7 separate regions of the Homo sapiens genome follow, and regions 2, 3, 4, 5, 6 and 7 are each linked to region 1. Evidence: promoter capture Hi-C in 16 types of primary human blood cells and fetal thymus (Javierre and others, 2016). All regions are on one chromosome and are shown on one strand. Each heading gives the region's core, a stretch centred on a gene start or on the middle of the fragment in contact. The rest is flanking DNA. Distances are from core to core; before and after follow the strand shown.

Region 1 (3,863 bases), core at 787-3,286:
TTTAAAAAAAAAAGTCTCTCTCCTTTTATTAACTGTACAACAAACAGCTCTTCATCCTCCATTCCTTGCAATTTAAAAAACTACAAAGGTAATTTGCTTACACTGACAGAGAGAAAATGAGTTTTTACATTTTGTTCAGAAAAAGTTTTAATCATAAGGTTTAACTCATTCAGAAAATCAGTTATTTCGCCTTTTTAATATTATATGTACTATGGTAATAAAAATAGATTCATCCAGTCACTGTCCTCACAGAGGTCAGTCTAGTCAAAGGAAAATTTTAAAACGGTAGTAATAATGAACATTTGACCAGCCTGGCCAACATGGTGAAATCCCGTCTCTACTAAAAATACAAAAATTAGCCAGGCTTGGTGGCACAAGCCGTAGTCCCAGCTACTCGGGAGGCTGAGGCAGGAGAATCTCTTGAACCCGGGAGGTGGAGGTTGCAGTGATAGGAGATCGCACCATTACACTCCAGCCTGGGTGACAGAGCAAGACTATGTCTCAAGAAAAAAAAATAATAATAATGAACATTTATTGAGCACTTAGAATGTATTTCTGATATATCAGCTCATTTAATCTTCACAACTACTATGAGGTTTATCATTGCCTCTATTTTACAGATATGGAAACTCAAGTAACTTGCCCCAAGTCATAGCGGACCCTGCAATCAAATGCAGCCAATTGGGTTCCATAACCTATGCCCTTAACAATCCCACACTGCCTTTTCAACTATACCATTACAACAAAATGTGGAAAGCGGTGACATAAAATAAAAACAGGGTGCTATGCGGGGAAAAAACATGAACAGCGTACTCAGTCTAGAAGAGCAAAAAAGACTTCCCCCGAGGATGTCATTTGAGCTTAACCCTGAGTGAAGAATAAGGTGGACAAAACAAGAGAGTTGCGGTGGAAACTCCAGGATTAGGAAAAGCCTGTAGAGGGCCCAAAGAAAAAAAAAAAAAAAAAAAAGCAGCTGCTGGAGCAAGAAAGTGAGTGCATGGAGGGGACTGGCAGGCGAAGCTGGAGAGATAGGCAAAGGCCAGTGAGGAATGGTCTTGGCAAGTCAGAGAATTCAAGCGTTATCCCAAAGGCAATGGGCACCACTACAGAGTAATAAGTCGGGGAGTGACATAATCAAATTTGCACTTTTGAAAAACAACTTTTGGGCCGGGCGCGGTGGCTCACTCCTGTAATCCTAGCGCTTTGGGAGGCCGAGGCGGGCGGGTCACGAGATCAGGAGTTCGAGGCCAGTCTGGCCAACATAGTAAAACCCCGTCTCTACTAAAAATACAAAAAATTAACCGGGCGTGGTGCCGGGCACCTGTAATCCCAGCTACTCCGGAGGTTGAGGCAAGAGAATCACTTGAACCTGAGAGGCGAAGGGTTGCACTGAGCCGCGAACGCGCCATTGCACTCCAGCCTGGGCGACAAAAGGAGACTCCGTCTCAAAAAAAAAAAAAAAAAAAAAAAAAAAGACAACTTTGGTTGTTGGAGGAAAAATTAATTCAATCTTGAAGGGTTTTGTCTTTGCTTGTGTGTTTTTAAACATCAGGTCCTAGAACAAGACTGGGGAAGGGCAAATGATAGTGGCCTGGCTCAGGGTGGAGATGGGAGAGAGGAGTTTAGAAGGGAGGCCAGGCAGAGACGCATATTTGGGAGGAGGCCGCAACAACCATCAGGGCACAATGAAATAGAGCAGGGAAAGCGCGTTGCCTGAGCACAGGGGAAGGTCCAGGAGTCATGGAGGCAACCTTCGGTGACTGCCGCTCTTCTCAGCCCTTCACAAGTGCAATATCGCCGGGAAGGAGGCAACTTTCTACACCACCTGCGGGCAGGGAGAGGCGGGTGGTGGACAAGAAACACCCACCAGAAGATAGTCCCGAACTTCATGTTTCTCCAGAGCTCCGTGAAGTCCTCGAAGCGTACACTGTCCGTCTCCTGGAAGCGGCTGAGCAGCGCCTCGCAGTCGGTCTGCAGGCCGGGAGGAGTCCCCATGGCACCCGAAGCCCGCACGCCTCCGAAGCCCGCACGCCTCTAACGGACTAGCCAGCGGTGGTCGCCCAGGAAACCAAGCCCGAACGGCCCGCCCCCTACGGCGTGCGCACACGCGCTCCGTGATGCATTATCCGGCACCTTTAGCTCCGCCTTTATCCGGGCTCTTGCCACCGGTCGTGTGCTTACTGCGCGTGCGTGAAAGCGTTCTGATGTTTTACTGGCTGAGATTGCTTTCACCCAGAGTGCTGAGATCCACCCTTCTTTGGAAGAGGTTTACGTCTAAAGTGTTGTGTTTGCTCACGAGCGGTTTTAGGTCTTCATTTTCCGCTAGGTTATGTAACTTGACTTTACCCTTACTAGCACTCTCCTTTAAACTGACCCTAGTGTGACATAAGTGAACTTTTGAGCTAGGAAAGAACAGTCCCAACCCCAACCCCACTCCCACTTGGGAAGAGAAGCTAAAGAAGGCTTGCTAGGAAACAAACTGCACTCATTCTCCTTCTGGTCATCGAGAACCCTAATACTCTGTACCCACATAATACGATGCTTAATGTGCGGCCCTCTCTTTGTAGCCCTGGCATTCTGCAACCACTCTTGAAAAGAAGAGCTGCATTTCATACCCTCTTGTAAACAGCCCTCCTCCTGCCCTGCCACGCATTCACCCCTGTGCTACATAGCACTTAGCAGAAAATACCTACTTGTTATATTCTTGTTATATTATTATTTGGATGAATTGCCTTTTTGTGTACACGCTGCCACCTAGCTTCCTTCCTCCAGGAGCTAGCTATGGAGTAACATTTTGAACTTTAGATCATTTCTCTGATTGAAAGGTAAGCTATCATTCTTTAGAAGAGGTATCCTGATATAATAGAAAAACATTGGGCTTTCTGTGTGTAAATGGAGTGTCAACTCACTTTACTTTTCTGATCCTTGACCTGTTTTTGTTTGTTTGTTTGTTTGTTTGGATTTGTTTGTTTTTTGTTTTGAGACGGAGTTTCGCTCTTGTTGCCCAGGCCGGAGTTCAGTGGCGCGGTCTCGGTTCACTGCAACTTCCGCCTCCCGAGTTCAAGCGATTCTCCTGCCTCAGCCTCCCGAGTAGCTGGGATTACAGGCATGCACCACTCCAACCGGATTTTGTTTTGTTTTGTTTTGTTTGTATTTTTAGTAGAGACAGGGTTTCACCATGTTGGCCAGGCTGGTCTCGAACTGCTAACCTCAGGTGATCCGCTCCCCTCGGCCTCCCAAAGTGTTGGGATTACAGACGTGAGCCACTGCACCCTGCCCTCTTGACCTGTTTTTTAAATGTTATGTAATATTTTATGTCACAGAAAAATTTATGCGATGTGTGAGATAAAAAGCATAGCAGTTAAACACCTGTACACCTTTCACCTGTGTAGGAACCAGAACATTACCAACGCCTTCACATCAATCTGCGATTTCCTCCTCTGACCTATTCCTTTGACTGTACCCTACTTTAATCACAGCTACTGGTTGGGCACGGTGGCTCACGCCTGAAATCCCAACACTTTGGGAGACAAAAGCAAGAGGATTGCTTAAGCACAAGAGTTGGAGACCAGCCTGGGAAACATGGTGAAAATTAGCCGGGCATGGTGGTGCACACCTGTAGTCCCAGCTACTCGGGAGGCTGAGGTGGGAGGATCATTTGAGCCTGGGAGATGGTGGTTACAGGAGACAGAGGTTGCAGTGGTGAGCCGAGATCGTGCCACTGCACTCCATCCTGGGCTACGGAGTGAGACCGAATCTCAAAAAATAAATAAATAACTACCTTGAATTTTGTTTCTCTTTCTCATGTATATATTTTATCACATATGTATGTATATTTAAACGGTATATTTTTTAGTTGTGGT
Region 2 (3,863 bases), core at 665-3,164, 440 kb after region 1:
ACCAGCGGGTGGGCTGCAGCCCCACTGCCTCACCGATGCGGACCCTCAAATAGCCATTGAACTTCATGGTGCCAGACGACATGCCGGCGCCGCTGCCCCGGCCCCGGGGGGCCGCGCTGCTTCGCAGCGGGAGAACCGGGAGTCCCGTCTCAGGCCAGCCCTCGGGACAGGTGCAGGAGTCGAGGCAGCCCTGGGGAAAGGCAGCGCCTAAGCGCCCCTCGACTGGCCATTCTGCCTCCTCCGTGGGACTTTTCCCTCCCCTCCTTCCCTCCCTCCCGAGGTGGAAAGGAGGGGAGCCCGCCGCCGAGCCCTCAGCGGGCCGGGGAAGCCCGACCGTCCCTTCCAAGCGCGCGGCGCCTCCCGGGGACTCGCGCAGGACTCGCCCCTTCTCCAGGGCCGGGCAGCTCCTCTCCCTGGAGAGCCGGACCTACCCGTCCGGTGAGCCCCAGCCCCAAGCGTCTCTTCCCCCGCCTCCTCTTGCTTCTCCTCCTGCCCCCGCCTCCGAAGGCTCACGCTCTCCCCCACTCGGCGAGCTTCAAACCAGGAAGCAGCTGCCGCCGCCGCATCCCCGGCGAGAACCTCGCACCGCCAGGTTCCAAGTTCACAGAACCCCCGCGTCCGCTCCCGCGCCTTCCGGACCCCAGGGGCGTGGCCCGCGGTCCGCGGCCCGGCCCTGCGGTGGGTGGATCCCCGCGCAAGCCCCCGGGAGGCCAGTGCCCGCTTGCGCCGCCCTGCGCGCCCTCCTTGTAGCGCTGGGTCTGGCCGTGCGCTGCGGGTTAGGGGCCACCCCGGGCGCAGGCCAAAAAGGAAAGGGTTCGTGGCCCAGCCCGAGCAAACACCTGAGGCGTGGTAGACTGACCTGGGGAGCGATGGAAGGTTGGGAGGACGCAGAGGAGGGCGCTCCAGCCAGGAACCCGCGCGGCGAGGAGTCGCCCGCCCCCTCTCTCCCAACCTCCCCGGTGGGCTGGTGACCCTGCAGGGCCATCCCCAAGAGGCCCTGGCCGGAGGCGGGGGCACGGCGGGGAGGTTCTTTTTCCTAATATTTACAGGGATGGCTCATCCCGGGGTCAGCTCGAACGCATCCTGTTTGTGCGCCTTTCCTGCAGAGGCTAATTACACAGTTGTGTGTATGTGTGTGTTTTAATAGGGCAGTAGTAATGATGGAAATCCTGTTCGCCTCCTTCCTCGGAAGGTGTGTCTTGTTGCACATAGAGCAGGAAAGGTCGGTTCTTCTGGAGACAGACATGGCCAAGAGGTAATAAGTCTCTTCCTCTGCGGGTGGTTTCTGGTCCACCCAGCTCTGCGCGGCAAGGGCAGAAAATGTTCACACACACAGGCTGTCCCCAACACACACGCGGAAGAAATTGCCTCTTCTAGGAACACTCCAGCTTGTTGTATTTGCAGTCAGAGTGGGCAGCCTTCTGATGCTTCCCACCCCGTGGTCCCTGCAGATTTTGTCTCCGGGGAGGACCTTTTAGCCTACGCTGCTATGCCGCAAAGCTTGCTCCCTGAGGGCCAGCCACAACCAATTTGTTCCCCAAAAAGCCTAGGCCACTTTTTGTTGTTGTTGTTGTTGTTGTTTTTGAGACGGAGTTTCGCTTTTGTTGCCCAGGCTGGAGTGCAATGGCGCCATCTCGGCTCACCGCAACCTCCGCCTCCCAGGTTCGAGCGATTCACCTGCCCCAGCCTCCCGAGTAGCTGGAATTACAGGCATGCGCCACCACGCCCGGCTAATTTTGTATTTTTAGTAGAGACAGGGTTTCTCCATGTTGGTCAGGCTGGTCTCAAACTCCCGACCTCAAGTGATTCGCCTGCCTCGGCCTCCCAAAGTGCTGAGATTACAGGCGTGAGCCACAGCACCCAGCCAAGCCTAGGCCACTCTTAAGATACTTGATTACATTCTGTCTTGCTATACTGGTTCCCTCGGAGCAGATTCGGCTTGCTTTCATTCCTTTCTTTCTTCCTTCCCTCCTTTCTTTCTTTTATGTTTTAGAGACTGGGTTTTGCTTTGTCATCCAGGCTGGAATACAGCGGTGTGATCATGGCTTACCATAACCTCCAGCTCCCAGGTTCAAGTGATCTTCCAGCCCCTGCCTCCTAAAGTGTTAAGATTACAGGCATGAGCCCCCGTGCCTGGCCCCAGGTTCATCTTTCTAGCCCCCACTCCTCTAAGGCCCTGTTCAGAACTTTCTAATTGAGTAGGTTCTCAACGATTTCACATGAGTGCAAGGAGGCCTGACCCGTAATAACAGCACTATACAGAATGAAAACAAGTAAGGACAATGGGCCAGGGGGGAAAGGGCCTGTCTTGAAAACACCAAAGCTTCCTTAGAGAACAAGGCAGGGATGCAACGCATCACTCTAATGACATCTTAGCTTTAGGCAGGGCTTGTAAAGCCTGCTCCCAAACGTCCAGGGGGCTCCTGTTTGGCCTTAGTGCTCCAGGGGAAGATGTCGCATCTACCCTGTGGGTCAGCTCTGTCACCCTTTCCTCCAAACAGCTGAACTCTAGCTTTAAGAGCCACTAAAGGATTTGCTCCTGTTGGACTTTGGGGCTAAAAGAAAACAGTCCCCATACAGAATCATGGGGTGTAGACTTTAAATTTTTTTTTAAATTTTAAAAAGAAAACAGTCCCCAAATGGTAGGTGGCCACACAGCTGTCCTGGGACTGGGATATGACGATACCAGACACTCCATCTTCACCCTATCAGTACCTATCAGGATTGGCAATGGTGACAGAGCAGTGGGTCAGACAGCCATGGTGCCTGCCCTCCTGGGGCTTACAGTCCCACAAGGAGGAAAAACAACTAATAGAAGAGGGTGCAGTGAAGGAAAAGCCCACGGTGCCAAGGGGTGATGTATTATAACTGGATGGGTGGTCAGGGAAGGGTTCCTTGAAAAAGCAAATAGCAGAGAGATCAGCTCATTGAGAGCTCCTGAGGAGACAGATGGGTTGGCCTGTTTGGGAACCAAAAGCACCCTACGTGGCTGGAGCTGAGGAAGGCGTGGCTGGAGCTGAGGAAGGTGAGGGGAGAGTGGCTGAAATGAGCTTGCAAAGGTGGTCACACTGACCAGACTGGTAGATCACAGGAAAGCCTTGGACATTATCTATGGGCCACTGGACGCCTCTGAAGGCTGTTAAGCAGAGCCAGGGTAAGATGAGGATTTGTGTTTTAAAATACCTCTCTGGGGACAGGCAAGGTGGCTCACACCTATAAACCCAACACTTTGGGAGGCTGAGGCAGGAGTACTGCTTGAGCCCAGGAGTTCAAGACCAGCCTTGGCAACATGGCAAGACTGTCTCTACAAAAAATAAAAACTAAAAAAATTAGCTGGATGTGGTGGCATGTGCCTGTAGTCCCATTTTATTTTTTTAGTAAAATAAAATATCTCTCTCGGGGGTGGATTGGAAGAAGCAGCACGAGTGTGGGGAGACCAGTTTATGAAGCTGTTGCCAAAGTCCAGAGGTGAGAAGATGGTGGCCAGGACTCAGGTGGTAGTGATGGAGATGAAGATAAATAGATGAATTCAAGAAGTGTTTCAGAAGTAGAACTGACAAGTCTTGATGACAGATTGAAGGGAATGAGGAAGAGGACGGTATCAAGGATGACTTGCAGAATCTGGCTTGAGCCAACTGTGTGGACTAGGGAGCTATTAGGGAGTTAAGAAACGGCATGAGACAAGGTGTGGTGGCTCATGCCTGTAATCCCAGCACTTTGGGAGGACAAGGTGGGGGGATGGCTTAAGCCCAGGAGTTTGAGACCACCCTGCGCGACATAGGGAGACTCTCATCTCTACAAAAAAAAAAAAAAAAAAACTTTTTAAAACTAGCCAGGGCACGTGCCTGTGTTCACAGGGGAAG
Region 3 (3,863 bases), core at 507-3,006, 420 kb after region 1:
CAGACCACAGGGAGCAACACCCTCCCCGGAAAACACCAACTGTACTCATCTGTCTGGAGTTTGTACATTTGGGAAGTTGTACAAAGAGACCGGTGCTGATAAAACTGGAAGGCTGACCATCAAATAAATAGATCTAAACCCTTACCAGAAAGAAGGAAGGAAAGGAACCGGGGCATTCCTCTGTGGGTTTCCACAGCTCTCTTGGCACCCAGAAGAATCAGCTTGGAGAAACCAGTGAGATACTCTCCTCCCTGGGCCTATTAACTTCCTCTCCTCACCCCACTGCCTCCGCCAAGCTTGTTAAAGTGCTATTTAATTCCGTTCCCTGAAAACTCTGGGTCTTCTCTTCCTTCCTATTTTGGCAAAGGTGGTTGCATCCTCCCTCACTGACCGAATGAAGTCAATGCTCATGGTGTAAAACAGTTTTAATGTGTGACACCTCACATCTGCCAATACAAATTATTAATGAGGTTCATTACTAGTTATATTAGGCTTTAGTGTGTAAAAAAGAGAGAGGCATCATTAGCCAAATTCTGATGAAAAGGACCCAGCAGCTCCAAGGGGCCTACATTAAGTGTCTTGTCTCACACAGCCTCTACTTAATACGGGCCACTACTTAGGAGTAATTGAATCAAAGCTAGAACACAAACCTCCACAAAATTGGGATTAGGAAATAAACTACAGATGTTCCAATTGCCTTAGGCCCAGAAACACCACAGTTAAGCCCAGCAAGGCAGGAGTTACTCCAACTGACCACACCTGGGTATGGGTACCAATGCCCAGAGAAAGCAGATGAAGGCAGGTAAAGGAGGAACGAAAGCATGAATAGACCTGCAGTGACACTGTCCATGGAGACTTGAAGATAATCAGAAAAAAATTATCAGCACATCCAAACTGCTTTAAACTGCAATACCTCAACCCCACAACTCCAGGGAAAACAATTAAATAAAAATTAATTGCATTTTAAAAAAGTAATTCAATCAATATTCCCTCCTTTAGCTTGGCACAAACCAAACCACCTTAAATAAGCAGAGTTATGACAGTCTCTCCTGAATTTTCACTTCACAGTTTTAGGAATATCTATTCTGGATTTCTTTCCCCACCAGTCCCCACCCGTCAACTTGCAATTTCAAAGGGACTCAAAGAAACAACTGAATCACCGGTGAACAGATTACAAAGCAAGGGGCAGCAGACAAGCCAAAGTAAACATACGGTAAAATTCCTAAGCCATTCCTAAACAATGCTTGTGAGGACATCAACATCATTAGCTAATGAGGGAATGAAAAGATGGATGTGAAAAACTATAATGCTTTGGAAAAATAACTCCTTTAAATGTTCATTACTATAATGGCTGTTTGGTTGAAGTCCAGGACTGCAGGTCGACTTTAAATCAAGTCCACATTAAACAGAATGGGCTCGCAAAACACAGGCAGAAAGATGTGAAGCATTTGCCCATGCTTGCTTTGATCATGGAAGCTTTATTCCTTTACAGAATTCTGCATTAACACCATAGTACACACATACATGAAAATCTGTGTGCCCTAGAAGTGTTTATGTATCTGTTTCCCCTATAAGACAAGCTCCTTGAGGGCAGGGAAACTATCTTTTTATTTCTGCACATCCCATGTGTTGCATAACCCCAGACACGTAATAATTGCTCCAATGAAATGTTAAACTTATTGGCAAAATAACAGTTAATTTTGAAAAAATCAAAAGGGAAAATAAGACCATTGGTGTAGGCCACAGCCTTAAGAACTGGGAAATGACACACTATCTCAAGTTACTGTTTGCAGAACGTACAACATGATGCAGCATGCTTGTGCTGATAAATTCAGTTGTGACTTTACCTAGGAATTCACTGTTAGGAGTAAAGAGGATAAAATCAAAGGTATTATAGAAATGGATAGTGTAGCCAGCACAATGTTTAAGGGGAGATATATCCAAAAGGAGATCAATCAAATTTGTATTATGTGATCATTTGATACCTCATTCATTAAATTGCTAAAAAAAAATTGGTGCCACCCTGACAAGCTTTCTTGAACAAGGGAGGCATGTCCATTTGGGGAGCTGTCATCTGCTGCAGATGCACACACAACACATGTAAAGTGTCCCTGCTACCCAGGGCCCTATCAACTCTTAAACCTTTAATCATTTCTCTACCACTTTACATCAGAATTAAAAGGCATATAGCCTTAAAAGGCAAATACCCAGAGTCCATCTGAAAAATTTTTACTTTTCTTCATATCAACCACCTGAGGCAGGTGTAATGCAGCTTAGTGGTTCCATGCAGGTGCTCAAACTCTAGCTCCACAACTTTAAAAAAAAAAAAAGAGAGACAGGGTCTTGCTATGTTGTCCAGGCTGGTCTCAAACTCCTGGGCTCAAGCAATCCTCCTGCCTTGGCCTCCCAAAGTGCTGGGCCACCGTGCCCAGCCTTCACCACTTATTTGGGGCAAGTATCTTAACCTCTCTGAGCCTCAGTTGCCTCCCAAAGAGGAGGATAATAAGAGAATCTGAATATCTTGAAGGTATTCTGAGGATTAAATTAGTTAATGCACATGAAATACTTAGCCTGACACCTAATTAATCCTTATTGTGTATCTCCTATTATTGTATATTATCCCACTTGCTACTCTATTCATCACTCCTCTGCTCGCCTTCCCTGCTCCAACACTGCAGCAGAATTTAAGAGAGAAGGAACAAGTTAATGCACAGTTCACAGCTATTTCAGCCATCATGAAATTACTGCTGTGGCTGTCAGCCTTGCCTCCATATACAAATGTTGAAAGTTAAAGCCTCTGGATGGAGAAAAAATACAATTTTGTGGTAGTTGTTTTGTTTTCTATTGCTGCATAACAACGTATACTCTTTTCACTTGAAGTCTAAAACCTACATAGTCTGGAAAACTAAGTACGTTTATAACCATGAAGAGGCTGACAAAAGACTTCACAACAATCTATTCTTTCTACCCTCAAAGGGACCACAGTGACAGAAGATCCTGGTAAGACACTGTCCTCCCAGAAAGTGCTTGCTAGAAAAGGGTTTGAGAAGGGAGAGCCATTTATATGTAAATATCTTAGACTTGTTACCCCTAAAAATAGTGGAAAGAGGGAAATAATTTGTTAAGAAATATACCAGAAAAGGGAACTGAGGGTGAATGAGTATACAGCCTAGTACTGTGACAGGAACAGAAAGAAGCCCTCTTGGCCAGCCTAATGATAAGGTCATTCTCCCAAAGTAGAAACTGGAAAACTAGCATGTGAAGCAGGGCACGCTCAAGACTAGCCTCAATCAATCAACTGGGGGGTTCAGGGTGGCCACCGGGCTAAAAATAAATAAATCTTTTGTTCCAGATGACCTTTAAGGTTCTTCAAGCTTTAAGGGGCTAGCAATCTGGATCTGGTGAAAACAGGTCACATAGGCAGGCGGGAGGAACTTCTAGAAATAGCACACAAACAGCCATCACCCAAGCAAAGATCAGCAGGGTCAGGATTCATCAGTGCAAGGGACCACTCTGCCACTCTCAGTCACAGGCAACCCCGCTGACTACAGACCCAAGTGTCACCCGAGGCGTACCTGCAGCTGCTGGATTGATCGTCCCACAGCTGGCTCCAGAGGCCTTAAAAGAACAGGTCTGGTCACAAGGCAACCATCCAGCACTCTCCACTACCTTGCTTGTGGCTCTTTTCCTCTCAAGTAAGTTACTGAGACACATTAGGCACTTCATTCAACAAATCACAAAAAAAGATTAAATTTTGCCCCCCAAATCCCTGTTTGCAGCTGCCATACCTGGCACTCAACAGTTTATTTTCATGGAAACACCTGGCACACAATGGAACCCCCCAGCCTGCCTCCGTTCGTACC
Region 4 (3,863 bases), core at 747-3,246, 390 kb after region 1:
AATGATGATCCCTGGTGCCATTAACTGAGACAGGGACTCCAAGGGGGAAGCAGAACTGGAGGAAAGACAAAGAGTTCAATGTATGACCTTTACCTATGACATCTGAGCATCTACTGGGCTGTCCTTAACAGCTTCTGAAAATTCAGATGGAGAGGGAGGAACACCACAAATTACAACCCAATGCGGTCTCAACTGAATAGGTCAGTGGCAACATCAAAAGCACTATTCAGTGCTGGGTGTGGCGGCTCACATCTGTAATCTCAGTATTTTGGGAGGCCAAGATAGGAAGATCACTTGAGGCCAGAGCTCCAGAACAGCCTAAGCAACAAAATAAGACCCCATCTCTATAAAAAAAATTAGCCAGATGTGGTGGTACATGCTTGTAATCCCAGCTACTTGGGAGGCTGAAACAGGAGGATCACCTGAGCCCTGGAGTTGGAGGCTGCAGTGATCACACCACTTCATTCCAGCCTAAGTGACAGAGAGAGATGCTGTCTCAAAAAAAAAAAAAGAAAAAGAAAAAGAAAAAAAAAGCCCTAGGAGAGGAGCAATCACTGGGCTAGGGCGAAGCTTTACCTGGGAAGTGAGACCCTGAATTGAGGCCTGAAGGCAAGTTTCAATTAGTGGGAAGTGAGACCATTCTGAGTCAGGAGCAACCTGTGAGAAGTGATAGAACTAATATCAGAACACACACTTGATCAGTGTCATTGGAGGAATGTCCATACAGGAGTAAGAGAGAAGGCTGGAGGCAAAACACAGAAAGAGCTACACCCAGAGAACTGTAACCTTAGATTGCAGGCCAAGGGGAGCCACTAGAGGTTTTTGATTATGTAAAATGATAGAGATTAACATGTAAAAGGAAGATTTTGTCTACTAGATGAATGAATAGACAGACAGCTATGGTCTAGAAGTATGAATGGTTTGCTAAGGGTGAAATCAGTGAAAATTAATAATCATGTGAAGAGAGCAAACAAAAGCAGTGGAAAGGCCAAAGGAGTATGGAGTTTGGGGCCTGGGTATCCTAGATCAGGGTCAGCAAACAGCAGCCCAAAGGCCAATGCCAGCTGCTGCCTATTTTGATAAGTAAAGTTTTACTGAAACACAGTCACAACCCTTTAGTTACATATTATCTACAAGATGAGTAGCTGTGATTGAGACCTTATGGCCCATGAAGACAAAAATATTACTCTCTGGCCCTTTACAGAAAGATCTGCCCATCTCTGTTGCCACTAATCAGCCAGGGAACTCAGGGAAAGAACATGTTTTAAAGGGAAAGAAATGAGTTTAAATTTGGACACAAAAGTACTCAAATAGAAATATCTGGCAAGATGTTGGAAATAAAGACAAATCATGTAGTTAAACATACGGCTGGGGTTATCATTTGGGAATTTTTCTCAAAAGGTAAACACTAAGTCTAAGAGCAGTGAAATTTTTCAAGAAAGAGCACAGGAAAAGAAGAAAAGAAAAAGCAAATTCACTAAAGGAGTGAAAGAAAGAACCAGAGAAAATACAATCTGAGAGGTGGGAGGAGTCCCCAAGTTTAGCATCATGGGACATGGAAACAAGCAGCTTCAAAAGAGAGGAGAAGCCAAATGTGCAGATATGGAAGATGAGGTCTTTAAAGGGGAGATGACAGTAGATGACCTGGGAGATGACAGGTAGACTTCTTCCATGATACCCACCCCATCATTAGCAATTCTGTTGGAAAGGTCATCCTTACATTAAGCTAAAGACAATCTATATCCCCATAACTTCCACCTGCAAATTTCATTACACCTCTAAAATTTACCCTGCCAACATGGGGAAAGAGACAGATGTGGAAAACAGCACAGAAGCTGCAAGGAATACATGGTTTAATTAAATTGTATCTCATTTAAGTGAATTAGAAGGTAAAGCTAGAAATTAGAAGGTAAAGCTAGAAATGCAATGGACGAAAGGTTTGGATGCCAAGTTAAGAACTGAAATTTCATTTCAAATAATTAGGCTAGCAACAGTCCTAAAACAACATGCTGGAGGACAAACTAGAGGGGTGTAGATGGGGCTGGAGGTGCTGGGCAGAATTAAGAGACTGTCTCAGTGGTACAAGTGTGCAGTGGAGGAGGCAGGAGAGAAGTATTACAAAAGAAGCTCAGCAGGACTTGGTGGCTAAGGATAAGGGATGATGAAAAGCCCAAAGGCAGCTGTAGTATCTGGAAGACGGTAAGACTAAATCTGCAAGAAGTAAGGCAATCTAGAGGGTCAGTTGGTTTGGGATGACTCTGGTTTTTAAAAATACTGATTTGTAGGGAGATTAGAAATGTGTGACAAAAAGATAAATGGGACCTGAAACTTAAAATAAAGGGCTGGGCTGCAGGTAGAGTCATCCACACAGGAATAACTGAACCACAAGACAGCTGACTGACCCTCAAGGAACAATTGTACAGTTCAAAGAGCAAAGAATCAAGGACCAAAGCCATGTTTAGAGAATGAGAGAAAGCAGAACCAGCAAAACAGAAAGAAGGGTGTTGGGAAAGGCACGCTGGCTACCCTGAGCAGACCTTCACAACCACCTTCTGAGTAAGGAAAAGTAAAGCAGCATTATCTCCATTATATTGCACAGTCATCTGGAGACTGAATTAGGTTTGGATTATTAAAATCCCATTAAAGGCCTTGAGTACCACACCCACCACACTGTGAATAAAATCTTAATGTATTTATGAGCTTTTTTTTTTTTTTTTTGAGACAGAATTTCACTCTTGTTGCCCAGGCTGGAGTGCAGTGGCATGATCTTGGCTCACTGCAACCTCTACCTCCCGGGTTCAAGTGATTCTCCTGCCTCAGCCTCCCAAGTAGCTGAGTTTTTAATAAACCTGGCTAATGAATATTTGCCACACAAGCCTTCAAAATATTCACCTGTCTCATTCTCTCACTTCTTATAAAATCAATTTTTGCCCGTGGTATGGTTTGGCTCTGTGTTCACACCTAAATCTCATCTCGAATTGTAATCCAGTCATGTTGGGGAAGGGGCCTGCTGGGAGGTGACTGAATCATGGAGGCAGACTTCCCCTTTGCTGTTCTCATGATAGTCAGTGAGTTCTCACGAGATCTGGTTGTTTGAAAGTGTGTGGCACTTCCCCCTTCACTCTCTCTCTCTCTGCTCTGCCATGATAAGACGTGCTTGCTTCCCCCTCACCTCCTAGCCATGCTGTTGTACAGCCTGCAGAAATCTGAGTCAATTAAACCTATTTTCTTCATGAATTACCCAGTCTCACGTAGTTCTGTATAACAGTGTGAGAATAGACTAATACAGAAAATTGGTACCAAGAGTGGGGTACTGCTATAAAGATATCTGAAAAGTATGGTAGCAACTTTGGAAATGGGTAACAGGTAGAGGTTGGAACAGTTTGGAGGGCTCAGAAGACAGGGAGATATGGGAAAGCTTGTAACTTCCTAGTATTTGTTCAATGGTTGAGACCAAAATGCTGATAGCGATATGGACAATGAAGTCCAAGCTGAGGTGGTCTCAGATGGAGACTGAGGAACTTACTGGACTGGAGTAAAGGTCACTCTTCCTATGTTTTAGCAAAGAGACTGGTGGCATTTGGCCCTGCCCTAGAGATCTGTGGAACTCTAAACTTGAGAGAGATAATTTAGGGTAACTGGCAGTAGAAATTCCTCACCAGCAAAGCATTCAAGATGTGGCCTGGCTGTTTCTCAAAGTGTACACTCATATGAGTGAAGAAAGGGATGGTGTGAAATTGGAACTTACATTTAAAAGGGAAGCACAGCATACAAGTTTGGAAAATTTGCAGTACAACCATGCAGTAGAAAAGAAAAACCCATTTTCTGGGGAGAAATTCAAGCCAGCTGCAGGAATTTGCATC
Region 5 (3,863 bases), core at 367-2,866, 370 kb after region 1:
CTAGGCACAGTCCTATTTATCATTCAGACTTGTTTTAAACATCACCTCCCCAGAAAAGCTTTCTCTAAACCCTCCTGGCCAAATTGATTATGTAGTCCCATGTGCCAACACTATGCACTGGGCTTATTCCTGCCATGGGACCTGGCTCCCTGCATTGCATACATAATATGTATCTGCCTTCCCTCCTATGAGCTCCTGTGAGAGTGTCTATGTCTCGTTCATCTTTATCTCTCCAGCATCTATGATGTGATTACAGGTCTGCACCCAGCAGGTTTTTCTTATGTCACTTCTCAATCATGTCTTACATTTAACAAAATAGTTTTGCCTGAGCTAATTCAGTATAATTAATGAAAAATTAAAAAATGAGGTAAGTAGCAGTCAGTAGCCCCAATACCAGCCTTGTATATCACAGACCACCGTCCAATTTAAGTAATTTTTTTTAAAGGAGTGCTTTGAGATTATAGAATCTGAGCTTATGGCAGAACCCGCATAGGAGATCATGAAAACAGGCATGGAGATAAGCCAACATTATGCTAGCCACTGTCCATGAAATTCTTGAGGCTTCTTGTATAAAATAAAGTCTTTTCTTTTCTTTTTTTTTTTTTTTTTCTGAAACAAGGTTTCACTCTGTCACCCAAGCTGGAGTGCAGTGGCACTATCTCAGCTCACTGCAACCTCCACTTCCCAGGCTCAGGCAATCCTCCCACCTCAGCCTCCCAAGTAGCTGAGACTACAAGTGTGCACCACCACACCTGGTTAATTTTTGTATTTTTTGTAGAGATGGTGTTTCACCATGTTGCCCAGGCCGGTCTCAAACTCCTGAGCTCAAGCAATCTGCCTGCCTCAGCCTCCCAAAGTGCTGGGATTACAGGTGTGAGACACCACGCCTGGCCATAAAGTCAATGTTAAGATAAAACGAACCTGCTGAGTATACAAGATGGTCCCAGGGCAGGGGTAGGGGAAATGACTGGGATCTCCTTGCTGTGACAATAGGAACATGGAAATGAAAATCCCACTAACATACCTTCATATAGTACTTTATAGTTTGCAAAGCACTTCCCCATATATTATATCATCTGACCTTCAAGACAACCATGTGAGACAGACTGAGGATCAGCCAACATTTCCTGAGCTTTGACAGTGCCTCCAGGATCCTAGGACAATGCCCTTTTCACAGTCCAAAACACACTGGGCAGGCCTGACCTTACACTGCTTTTCCATGAAGGCTTTCAGTATCCAAGATGGGAACTAGAGCTCCAAATGTTGCACCAGCCAACCTGTCATATTATGGCTGGACATAATCTAAGGTGGCTTCCAGGAGCGAGGTCAAGCTAGGGACATGCTCTCAGTGCCAGGTCCAGGTTGCTGCCACAGCTGTGGCAGGCAAATGCGGGGGGGGGCTCCATTTCCTTCTTACTTAACACAGACAGGCAGCCATCACGTCCTCTGCATGTGACAAGGGAGCGGTGTTTTAAAGGCAGCAGCAACGTGCAAGCTCAAGCTGAGCCCCAGTCTAGGAGCCAAAATGAAAAAGCAATGCACGCACAGAGACACAGAGAACAGATATGGGGTTCCTAAAATATACCCCACCCGTAGATTTCAATATTAAAATTTTAGCATTAAAAGTCTATTTCTCATGGATAAAGCAGCTCTTCCAGCATCTTTTAAAATATGCAAACACACCTAAGAGGAATAGAGTACTATGACATCAATCTCTATCACTGTAGTGTGAATTAGCCTATGAATTAACTGTTTTCCTTATCAGCAACTCTTTCTGGACAGGGACCACTGGGCTTCTTGCTGCAGTAAGGGACAACTGTAGGCAGAGACAAAGGACTAGCTTAAAGCAAAGATGGAATTACCAAAGATAAACTCAACTCATCTCACAATTTTACCCAGGGTCAGCTCTGAAAGACACAACTGCAATGACCTAGTAAGAACTCACCTCTAGTATGACTTACCATTTCATTCTTATTATCACTGAAACTAAGAAATAAATACAATGAGAACAATCAGATGTATTTGGTGAGCATTTAGTCCTAGAGAGTTGGCATGGCTCTAAAAAAGTCATGTAATGATTATGGCACAATCAGACCTGGTCTAACATGCATTGCTTTACTTCGCCAGTCCCTTGTAACTTAATGCAGAGAGTTGATTCAGCTCGAATGAGAGAGAATCTTACCCACTCCTCCTCCTGACCTCTTTCTCACTGTTGTGTTTCTTTCTACCATAGCTGATCCATGTTCTACGTGCATGATGAGAATGTTTTATCAACAATGTTCCATAATACTACATTGATTTTATTTGACTAGGCTAGGAACAGACTCATTTTTCTCTGTACATAAAAGATACCAAGCAAAGCAAAAAGACCTTGGAGCAGGCAGAACACCCCCCCAAATTGTAACCTGAACAGTTTTTTTTTTTATGTCAAGTATTCTAGGTTTCTGCTAAATCCAGGTTTGTGCAAAAAGACAAGATTTAATAATGCAGACGATATATTGAAAAACTTTAACATTAAAACAATTCACCCATATGAATGGGAATGGTTGGCTGAAAGGAGTGGAGAAAACTATTTCTCAAAGAAAGTGTAACCAATTTTGCAAAATGCCAATACCAAAAATACAAACAATTAAGCCACATGCTTAAAAATCTTCATGAGGTTTTAGTAATGGTGAAGTAGCTTGATATGGACCAACCCTCCCACCAAAAGATTAAAATACCTGGAAAATATATTTTAAACAACTAGTTGATGATGTGAGAGAACAACCAAAAACACATACAAACTAGAGAGAATCTGACACGTGAAGGAGGGAAACCGCATTAGGTGAGACCCACATTTGTAGGGCTTTTCTCCAGATTATTCCCCAGGTTGTGCAGGATTGGGTAAATAGAACTCAATATGGAACCACAGTTTTATTGGCTTGAAGGCAGAATTGACAAAATTCAAGCCTACCAGATGACTGGATATTGAGGGGAGAAAACCTGGAAAGATGGGGCCACAGAAAGAAGAACCTCCACATATGTAAACTCTTCAAGCCCTCACATCTTCCTAAACTGTGCATGTGCAAGGGAAACTCTAAGAGGTCCAGACAGGAGCAAGAGCTAGGATGCTGAAAGATAGGAACTGAGATTTCAGCTGTTTCCCACCCATAGGAGAAAGAGTTAGAAGCTTGAGTGACATAAAATTAATGGGCTTAAAACACCTTGGGATTTCTACTGAAACCTCACACTGGCTATGCCTTACGAGCAAAGACCATGTCCACGGACTACAGAATTGACTAATTTGACTACAGATGGGTTTAAAGATACTCAAGATTGTTAAGATGTTAATTCCCCTCAAACTGATCTATAGATCCAACACAATTTCAATTCAAAATACAGCAGGATTTTGTCTGGAAATATATAAGCTGACTCTAAAACTGATATCAAATTGCAAAATACTGAGAATAGCTAAAATAACCTTAAACATACAAAAAAGAACGGAGTTGGAGGGCTCATACTATGTAACCATAAGACTCACTATAAAGCAACAGTAATGAGACAGTGTAATACTGGCATAATGTAGAGAAAAGAAAGAGAGATCAGATGGACAAACAGATCAACAGGACAGAACAGATAATCCAGAAACAGACCCACATTATATGGTCAATTGATTTTCAACAAAGGTTCCAGGGTGATTCAAGGGGCCAGGGGAGACTTTTAATAAATGGTGCTAGAACAACTGCATTCGTGTATTGAAAAAAAATGTTTCAACTCCTCTGTAACATCACACACAAATATCAATTTAAGAAGGCATACAGACCTAAACATAAAACCTAAAACTATTTGCTTCTTAAAAAAAAAAAACAAAAAAAGAAACAGGA
Region 6 (3,863 bases), core at 826-3,325, 360 kb before region 1:
TGGCTTAGATGCTTTAGCCTCATGAACAAAGCCAGACTGCATTTTAACTAAATAGTGAAGAATGAAGTCACTTTTCCTGGGTTCACATTGAGAAGCATCAATGGCTATTATTAGCATGATAGCTGGGCAGGTCTCTAATTTTTTTAACAAGCTCTAATGAATTACTATAGTGTAGGTGACAGTGAGAAAAGGCTAGAAAATGAGATGAGTAACTTCATCATGAGCAAACATGACTTTCTTATATGTATCTTTTTAAAATGTCTGCTCATTTTATCTTCCAATGTAATGCAATATCTACAGCATTTATGACCAATTAAGAATCTTTTAATGAGTAATACAAGGGAAGGCAGGTGGCAGATTAGAGAACCAAATGACAAATAAACTTATAGTTCTGGATCCCAAGTGTACCTCCAGGAAAGATATTTTTATTTGACAGATCAAGACCAAAAAAATCATATCAAATGATTCCAAGGTTCATAAAGACTGTCTGGCTATCATCAACCAATTAGCCTAATATACTGAATGTATCAGATCCTGAAAATACAGAGAAAATTCCCAGGAGTTCTAGATTTGAGTCTCAGCTCCTCCGTGGGCAACACACTTAGCCATTTAGTTTATTGCTCTTAAAAAATACCCACATGGGTTGTTAAAATGCTGAAAAGCCTTCACAGCTGGTATCAGTTTGACAATTATCTCCCTGAAAGCTGTTTAGCTATTTAAAATGTTTTCAGTATCAATTTTGGAGGATGGTTCTAGCCACTTTTAGGTTAAAATATATAGCAAACATAAGTTCCTACATCTGTTTGCTTGGCTGGATTAGAACTCAAAACATTCGGAGCTGATAACTATGTATCCATCACCTGATTCAGCCTCCTCAGTGTCCAGATGAGAAAACTACAGCCCAGACGAGTTCAATAATTTACATTCTGGCACGTGGCTATGAGTTTGGGTTTTGAAGTCAGATGGAAGTGGTCTGAATTCCAGCTCTGCTGCTTCTTATTTGAGTGACTTTGAGCAAATTACATAAACTCTCTAGAAATCTCATTTGTAAAGTAAGGATAGAAATAACACTGGCTCATAAGATCATTGAAATAATTCATGGAAAGTGACTGGCACTGTGCCTAGCATATAGTAAACACTCAATCAAATTGTAGACCTTATTTGTGCCATTAGTCACAAATCTACCACATAGAAGCAGAGCCCAGCCTGGCCTCCTAGCTCTGACTCAAAGACTCCACCACCCTGCCTCCCAAAGATACTAGATTGTAATTAGACAGTTAAAAAAAACTGCAAGAAGATATTGCAAATGATCAAGTTGAAAAAACGTAGTACAGATTCTATAACAACTCCAAATATTTCTGGTGTATTGCCACTGGTCATGCATTTTGGGTGAAGGAGGTGTAAACTATTTTTGAAACATACAGGTAATCATCTGGATAATTAATTAAAGTTGATCTGACTATCCAAAGAAGTTTGGTTGTTATGATTCAGTAAACATGTGTAAATCGGTTATAGTTCTCCTGCAACTAAAAGGCCAAACTTAACCCAGCCTATTATTCAAATAAAGATGACGAAATAGACAAGAAAAAAAATGAAATGACTTTATGTCTTCACATTCTGAGTGTTCTGAGCTCTGAGAACAGTATGTAAATTACAAAACTGAATTAGGCTGAGCCTAAATTTGTCTCTGAAAGTGAAATGGCTAATGATGGCTTGAATATTCAAGCTGTTTCTAATGCTATATCCTCTGGGCCCATAAAATATCTGTGCCAAGCTCAGTGTATTTGGTAGTATAAAACATAAATAACCAACAAATTAAAAGTTACAGAACAGAGTGACCATCCCTGTCATTAGAGTTCTAGCAATATAATTTTTATATAATTCTTTAAATAAATGTTTAAAATGTAATTACAAATGATTGCTCAAATGCTCTTCCTCATTGCTCTGCTTCTGCCTCCAGAAAACTGAAATCCTATTACGGTGTAAGTGATTTCATTTGGTACATGGTCTGGAGACAGTACATTAAGGAAACATCATCAGCAAATTAATTTACAAACACTTTGAGATAACAGACCACAGTAAAAAGAACAACTCCTGTCAAAGCAATCCATTCTTTGTCAAGACTCAAAGCTGGAGACATGGTGAAGAAGTGATCAGTTCAATATATCCTAATTTTAGTTTGGCTTTCATTTTTCCCCCCACAACATTTAAATCAAAACATTCCAAAAACAGAGTTGAAACCATCCTATTAGATGTGTGCATCCTACCCACAGACAGAAGGGGTGGAGGCTGATCAATGACAAGAAAGAAGGTGGGTTCCATCTCAGATCAACAACTGACTTGTGTTATAGATAAATCAGGCACCTCAGCTTCACAATGTCTTACTGATTTTTCTTTGTAACATGTTAGCCTGGCATGAGCCTTTAAAAGTGCAATTGTCCCTATCTAGCTAAATAATGATTTGCTGGTGACAAAGCTACTGGAGATATTTCCTTAAGGGCCATGACCACAGTTGATTAGAAAGAGTTACCCCATCTGTCCCTGCTAACCACATTCTGCAGTCTCACTGCATGGCTTGAAATACTTCAGCATAACCTTCTAGTTCTGTCCAACGGCACTAGTTCAAATACCAGCTCTACAGTTTATTTGCTTACTGACTTTGGCCAAGATATTTAAACTCAAAGAGCCTAACTTTTCTTTATCTGTTAAACGGGGGGACAATACCAAACTCATTGAGTTTTACTGGAATTAGAAGAGATGATGTTTAAAAAGCAGTTACTCAGTGCCTGTCACATGTGCTCATATTTCCTGCTCAGTAAATGTTACGTATTATTATTGCAGTGACTTCATTTTGAAATCATAAGTACATATCCTGCTCAGCAGCATTATATTATACCTAGGACATTGGTCCTCTCTTTAGTGCTAAGCATGGGCTGCATGAAGCATTCATGAGTGTATTCAAGAAGGTAGATGGGTGCAAAGTTCAAGGCTATGATGCTGTGCCTTCTGGAGACCTTTGGCTCTGTTGATGTTTAACAATTTTCCATCAGCCATCTTTCTTCTCTCTCATAACCCCCTTGCCTATCACCTTTCTGGATAATATCCTTTATGGTAGCAGAACTCAGTGTCAGGTTTTATCTCCAAATCAATGGAGCAATCTGTTTCTTCAGATTTATCCACCCCAAGCACAATATTGACTTTACTGGCAATTTAGAATTACTAACAAGTTCCAGCTCGAGCAGACTTTCTTAGGAACTTCCAGGAATACTGAGAGCCAATGACTTAGAAGAGTTTCTCAAGATACCAGCAGCATTGTCTGGTACTAGATTGCATCCATGTCCCTTGGGATAACCCCAAGCACAGGCATGGAATAGTAAAGAAAACCCCACCAGTTCCACAAGCCTATCCTGCTCCAATGGTAATGGTCTCTGAACCAAACAGAACACCATTAGGTTTCCTTAGATGCTGCACTAAAGCCAGTTGCTGCCGTGATCTGGCCCTGCTAATGACAGAAATTTAGAGGCGAAGTGCAGGAGGCTTCTTGGGTAAACTTTTTGATTTTCCACCCCCTAGAAGTGCATTCCTGATTCTGAGGAATGATGCTTCCTTTTACCCCATCTTTTACCTTGGAAAGTAGAAATGAATTAGAAAGAAAATTGCTTTTTTGGAAGCACATTGCAGTATATGGGTTCCAAGAAATCCATACCTAGAGATATGCTAGAGAGATACTACAACTTCCCTCGATACCCAGGACTGGTACTCAAAGAAAAGAGTTTTAATCCCTAACCTATGGATAATAGCAGCCTTTCTAAAAGTACCTGATCTATATCACTCACATTGTCTTCCACTTTGATATCACTACC
Region 7 (3,863 bases), core at 413-2,912, 350 kb after region 1:
GTGAGAATGTGTTAAGAGGCCAGAGAGGATGGATCCACCCAGGAAAAGGTGTAGCTTCTGTAGGAAGAGAGGTTCCCTGGCAGCCAGCAGAAAGGAAGAAAAGAGATGGCCACACTGAGGGACAGCAGGCACATAAAGATGGCAGATCTTGCAGGATTTTTTCAGCAGAGTAAGAGAAAGAGAATATGAGTGGGAAAAAAAGTGGGAAGGGGCTTTCAGGTGTAAAAGTTTTAGAATTGCTGAGAAACCAACACAAGAAGAATGCTTCCGTTTTTGCTAAGTATCTGCTTAATGCCAAAAATTTATATGCCATGGGTCCAGCCAGCAACATCCAATCATCTGTGAGATGATTGCTCAGGTCAGGCATTGGCACAGCAGGCATGAAGGAAGATTAAAGGGTCAAGTGACCCCTGGGCATCACTGAGTTAGCACTGCAGGGATGACCCCACAGTCCTGGCTAGAGAGAGCACTGAGAAGATAAGTAGGAGCTTATGGTTCAGATAAATTAGCAGGGGCCAGGTTCAGGTCATATGGGTTCGGTTGAAGTAACATAAGGATGGAGTCATAGAAAAGCAACCCATGTTTCAAATCCAATTGGGGTCTTTTTGTTTATTTTCTCCATTTTCACTTTTCTACTTGTCTTTTTAAAGACAAGTATGTTTCTGCTTAACATATGGAATATAGTTATAATAACCATTTTAATGTCCTTATCTGCTAATTGTAACATCTGCGTTAATTCTGGGTCAGTTTTGATTGGTTGATTTGCTCCCATTATGGGTTGTACTTTCTTGCTTCTTTGTACATCTGGTAATTTTTGGTTGGATGCCAGACACTGGTTTTTGCCTATTGAGTGATAGTTTTGTATTTCTATAAAATCAGCTTTGATCTGGGACACAGCTAAGTTACTCAGAAATAGTTCGGCCCTATCAGATCTTGCTTTTTAGATTTAAAGCCATGCTCAGTTGGGTTAGTTATTCCCCACTAAGCAAGCAAGGCCCTTCTATGTACTCTACTCTACCCAATGCTCCATGACTCTTGAAGTTTTCCAGTCTGGTTGGTGGCAGAAGCACTATTTCTGGCCCCGTGTGAGCACCAGAAACAGTTATCTTTGCTCCTTTTGAATGGTGCTTTCCCCAGACTCAGGCAGCTTCTTTACACTGATCAGTTCTCAGAACTTTGTACACCTCCAGAGTTATGTCTTGGTGCAGCTGTCTCTTCTCTAGTACTGTATCCCATGATCTCTAGTGGCCTTAGTCTCTCTGGACTCTCAGATCCAATCCTCAACTCAGGGAGTCTGCTGGGCTCCACATGGTTCCCTTTTCCTGTGCTATAGCTTGGAAACTCTTTTAAGGCAGTTTGAAAAAACTCAGAGGTCTCACCTCATTTGTTTCCTATCTCTCAGGAATCATTGGCCTTTGTTGTCTGATGTATCCAGTGTCTTACAAATCATTGTTTCATTTATTTTGTCCATATTTTGTTTTTCACATGGGAAGATAAATCCAATACTTGTTTCAGCATTTGGCCAAAAGTAAAGTCCCCCTATAGGTTTTAAACTGAAAAATCCAAGAACCATCCCATCAGTTTAAGGCCTAATAAATACATCTGTGGCTGACTGGAACAGGGGTCCTCAAGTGTTAAGTGCCTGCCCTGTCCACTCTTTTATGCAAAGAGTTACTCTATGTCATGCCATAATCATCCGTTGACACCATTCCTATCTTGGTCACCGAGGAGGACAAGGGACTGGTACATGAACCAAAGAGACGTGTAAAGGATGAGCATGAAGGCTGGTGTCTTCTGAGGTGGCTCAAAGGTCTGCATAGTGAAGACAGCCTCTGTTGGATGGGATGGTTTGTTGGAAGTCGCTGGGGCTCAATCCTTGCTGAGCTCTGATCCACTTTCCCCAGAAGCCCACTGGATATCCAGGCTTGGAAGTCCTGACTTCAAATGACTGAAGGCCTAAGGAAAAGACAGCATCCACGATGTCTCATACTTTCTGTCCCTTTGCAATCACCCTCATTTTCAAAAATCATCTGTCCACAGCTCTTCCTGACAGGCTTCATGAGCCCAGGCAACACAGCCATTCGCACGGTTTGGAATTAGCCAGGCACACTGGTCAGTGTTGATAGTGGAAGGTGATCAGAACAGTAGGAAATGTGACCACCCAAGGGACCTGGCCATGATGGCTATGTTTATGTGTAGCTACCACAACAGGGATAGAGGTCGGGTGCGTTGCCTACAGGTAACGCTTATCTTTGAAATTAGAAGATAAGGAAAGCTCTGGGAGAGGGAAAAAGAGCATCCAATAATATGCTGGGGACTGCAGAAGGAGTAATTTAGCCACACCAGTGCTCTTTGCCTCACTCCATTGGCCACAATTGGTGCTGGAAGCAAGAAGCAAATACGCAGTTAGACTCCATTCACCAGCATCACCCCAATACCCCTAGAATCTAGGGCCTAGAGAAAAAGAGCCTTTAACAGGATGAAACCTGTCAAACTACTCAGAAGCAGCTGAGCCTAGCAACAGCCCAACGGATTTATATTACCCTACAGGCAGGCAGCATGGAGCAGAGTAAAAAGATTAACCCAAATCCACTCAAGTTAATCAACGGTTTGTCAACACATGCTCCCATTTCACATGGAACAAAATTGTAATTTTACCTTCAAAATGCATAAGAGATATTTTAATTAATAATCAAATACTAGATTTAAAGTGGATTTAACATATCACCATTTTTAAGAACGGGGTGGGGGTGAAGTCCTAAGTGAAACAAAACCTGCTCACAGACTCAAGAGATGCCATCTGGTCATTCAAAGCCAACCAAGCCTGTAAAATTAAAATCATAAAAGTCAACACACACTTTAACTTATAACTGAGAAGCTAATTTAATAAACTAAGGCAAATATTTGGGAAAAGGCCAAATGCTGTAAAAATACACAGAGTGAACCAACTCAATTTATTGGTGAATAAATAACAAAATAAACAACCACAGTCACTCCAAGTTGACAGGCAACATTTGATCAGGTCATCAGGCTGGTGACCAAACCTAACAAGCTCCTAGTAACAGGAGGAAAAGGCAGACGACAGGGGCAATGCTGCCTGACAATGTACAATGCTGGCCCTGGCTCTTACCATTCAATCTCTAGAGATAAGAAATTAATAACAAGTAGCATATACAATCTACTTTTAAAACATTTCTTTTTCCTGGGACCTAGAAACACCTTATAAACATTAACTCTTTTTTTTTTTTTTTTTTTTTTTTTGAGACAGGGTCTCACTGTGTCACTCATGTTACTCAGGTTGGAGCACAGTGGCACAATCATGGCTCACTGCAGCCTCAAACCTCTGGGTTCAGGCAATCTTCTTGCCTCCCAAGTAACTGGGAATACAGGTGCACACCACCATGCCTGGATTTTTTTTTCTTTTTTTGGTGGAGATGCCTGGCATCTCACTATGTTGCCCAGCTGGTCTTGAACTCCTGGGCTCAAGCAATCCTCCTGCTTCAGCCTCCCAGAGTATTAGGATTACAGGTATGAGCCACTACCACTCATTTATCTTAACAGAACTACAGGGAGAAGGTTCTCATTGCATTTCTGTATCTGTACTGAAAGAATCGGCCAGAGTAGGGGATGAGTTTCAAACATATCCCAAAGAGCAATTCCTTGAGCCCATGGCTGGGTCATGCTATCCTGGAGAGTAGAACTCCTGATCCATGTTCTGCTATCTACCAGCATTCCCATGGAGCACCCATGGCAGTGTGCATGCCCATGAACAGGGCTGTCTACGCCCACAGCCACCACCCCCATGGCACAGTCGGTCCTCACCAGGAGAGGCAATGCGGTGGCATCAATTAGCTGGACCCTCA

The links. The method cuts DNA at HindIII sites, captures the fragments that hold promoters and counts their contacts. A CHiCAGO score of 5 or more calls a contact.
Region 2: a fragment that was not itself captured here is called in contact with the fragment with the promoter of SNAPC1 in region 1 in 4 of 17 cell types (activated CD4 T cells, fetal thymus, total CD8 T cells and 1 more); the score reaches 7.7 in activated CD4 T cells.
Region 3: a contact is called between a fragment that was not itself captured here and the fragment with the promoter of SNAPC1 in region 1, in 6 of 17 cell types (fetal thymus, activated CD4 T cells, non-activated CD4 T cells and 3 more). The highest score is 7.1, in fetal thymus.
Region 4: a contact is called between a fragment that was not itself captured here and the fragment with the promoter of SNAPC1 in region 1, in 1 of 17 cell types (non-activated CD4 T cells). The highest score is 6.9, in non-activated CD4 T cells.
Region 5: a contact is called between a fragment that was not itself captured here and the fragment with the promoter of SNAPC1 in region 1, in 1 of 17 cell types (total CD8 T cells). The highest score is 5.4, in total CD8 T cells.
Region 6: a contact is called between a fragment that was not itself captured here and the fragment with the promoter of SNAPC1 in region 1, in 1 of 17 cell types (naive B cells). The highest score is 5.3, in naive B cells.
Region 7: a fragment that was not itself captured here is called in contact with the fragment with the promoter of SNAPC1 in region 1 in 2 of 17 cell types (total CD4 T cells and naive CD4 T cells); the score reaches 6.3 in total CD4 T cells.

What each region holds. Positions count from the first base shown.
Region 1 is chr14:61,760,593-61,764,455 of GRCh38, reverse strand. SNAPC1 (small nuclear RNA activating complex polypeptide 1) reads right to left here and starts at 2,036. Exons shown (of 10, transcript NM_003082.4): 1 at 1,868-2,036. The coding sequence starts at 1,995. RefSeq lists enhancers at 1,066-1,809, 1,810-2,553, 2,621-2,710, 2,554-3,297, 3,298-3,863. The HindIII fragment of the contact is 7,963 bases long and covers 1-3,863 here.
Region 2 is chr14:61,318,321-61,322,183 of GRCh38, reverse strand. All of the region lies in intron 1 of PRKCH-AS1 (PRKCH antisense RNA 1), which reads left to right. It overlaps PRKCH (protein kinase C eta), which reads right to left and starts at 605. Exons shown (of 14, transcript NM_006255.5): 1 at 1-605. The coding sequence starts at 82. RefSeq lists an enhancer at 1-261 and silencers at 223-392, 543-812, 3,439-3,733. The HindIII fragment of the contact is 823 bases long and covers 1,503-2,325 here.
Region 3 is chr14:61,344,342-61,348,204 of GRCh38, reverse strand. The region is part of intron 1 of PRKCH (protein kinase C eta); the gene reads right to left. Among named protein-coding and RNA genes, the nearest start is that of PRKCH-AS1, 23 kb to the right of the region's middle. The HindIII fragment of the contact is 555 bases long and covers 1,479-2,033 here.
Region 4 is chr14:61,374,873-61,378,735 of GRCh38, reverse strand. All of the region lies in intron 1 of PRKCH (protein kinase C eta), which reads right to left. Among named protein-coding and RNA genes, the nearest start is that of PRKCH-AS1, 54 kb to the right of the region's middle. The HindIII fragment of the contact is 2,848 bases long and covers 573-3,420 here.
Region 5 is chr14:61,392,828-61,396,690 of GRCh38, reverse strand. The region is part of intron 2 of PRKCH (protein kinase C eta); the gene reads right to left. Among named protein-coding and RNA genes, the nearest start is that of PRKCH-AS1, 72 kb to the right of the region's middle. The HindIII fragment of the contact is 3,111 bases long and covers 61-3,171 here.
Region 6 is chr14:62,121,943-62,125,805 of GRCh38, reverse strand. It overlaps the pseudogene SERTAD4BP. Among named protein-coding and RNA genes, the nearest start is that of LINC00644, 16 kb to the left of the region's middle. The HindIII fragment of the contact is 4,947 bases long and covers 1-3,863 here.
Region 7 is chr14:61,409,102-61,412,964 of GRCh38, reverse strand. All of the region lies in intron 2 of PRKCH (protein kinase C eta), which reads right to left. Among named protein-coding and RNA genes, the nearest start is that of PRKCH-AS1, 88 kb to the right of the region's middle. The HindIII fragment of the contact is 7,709 bases long and covers 1-3,863 here.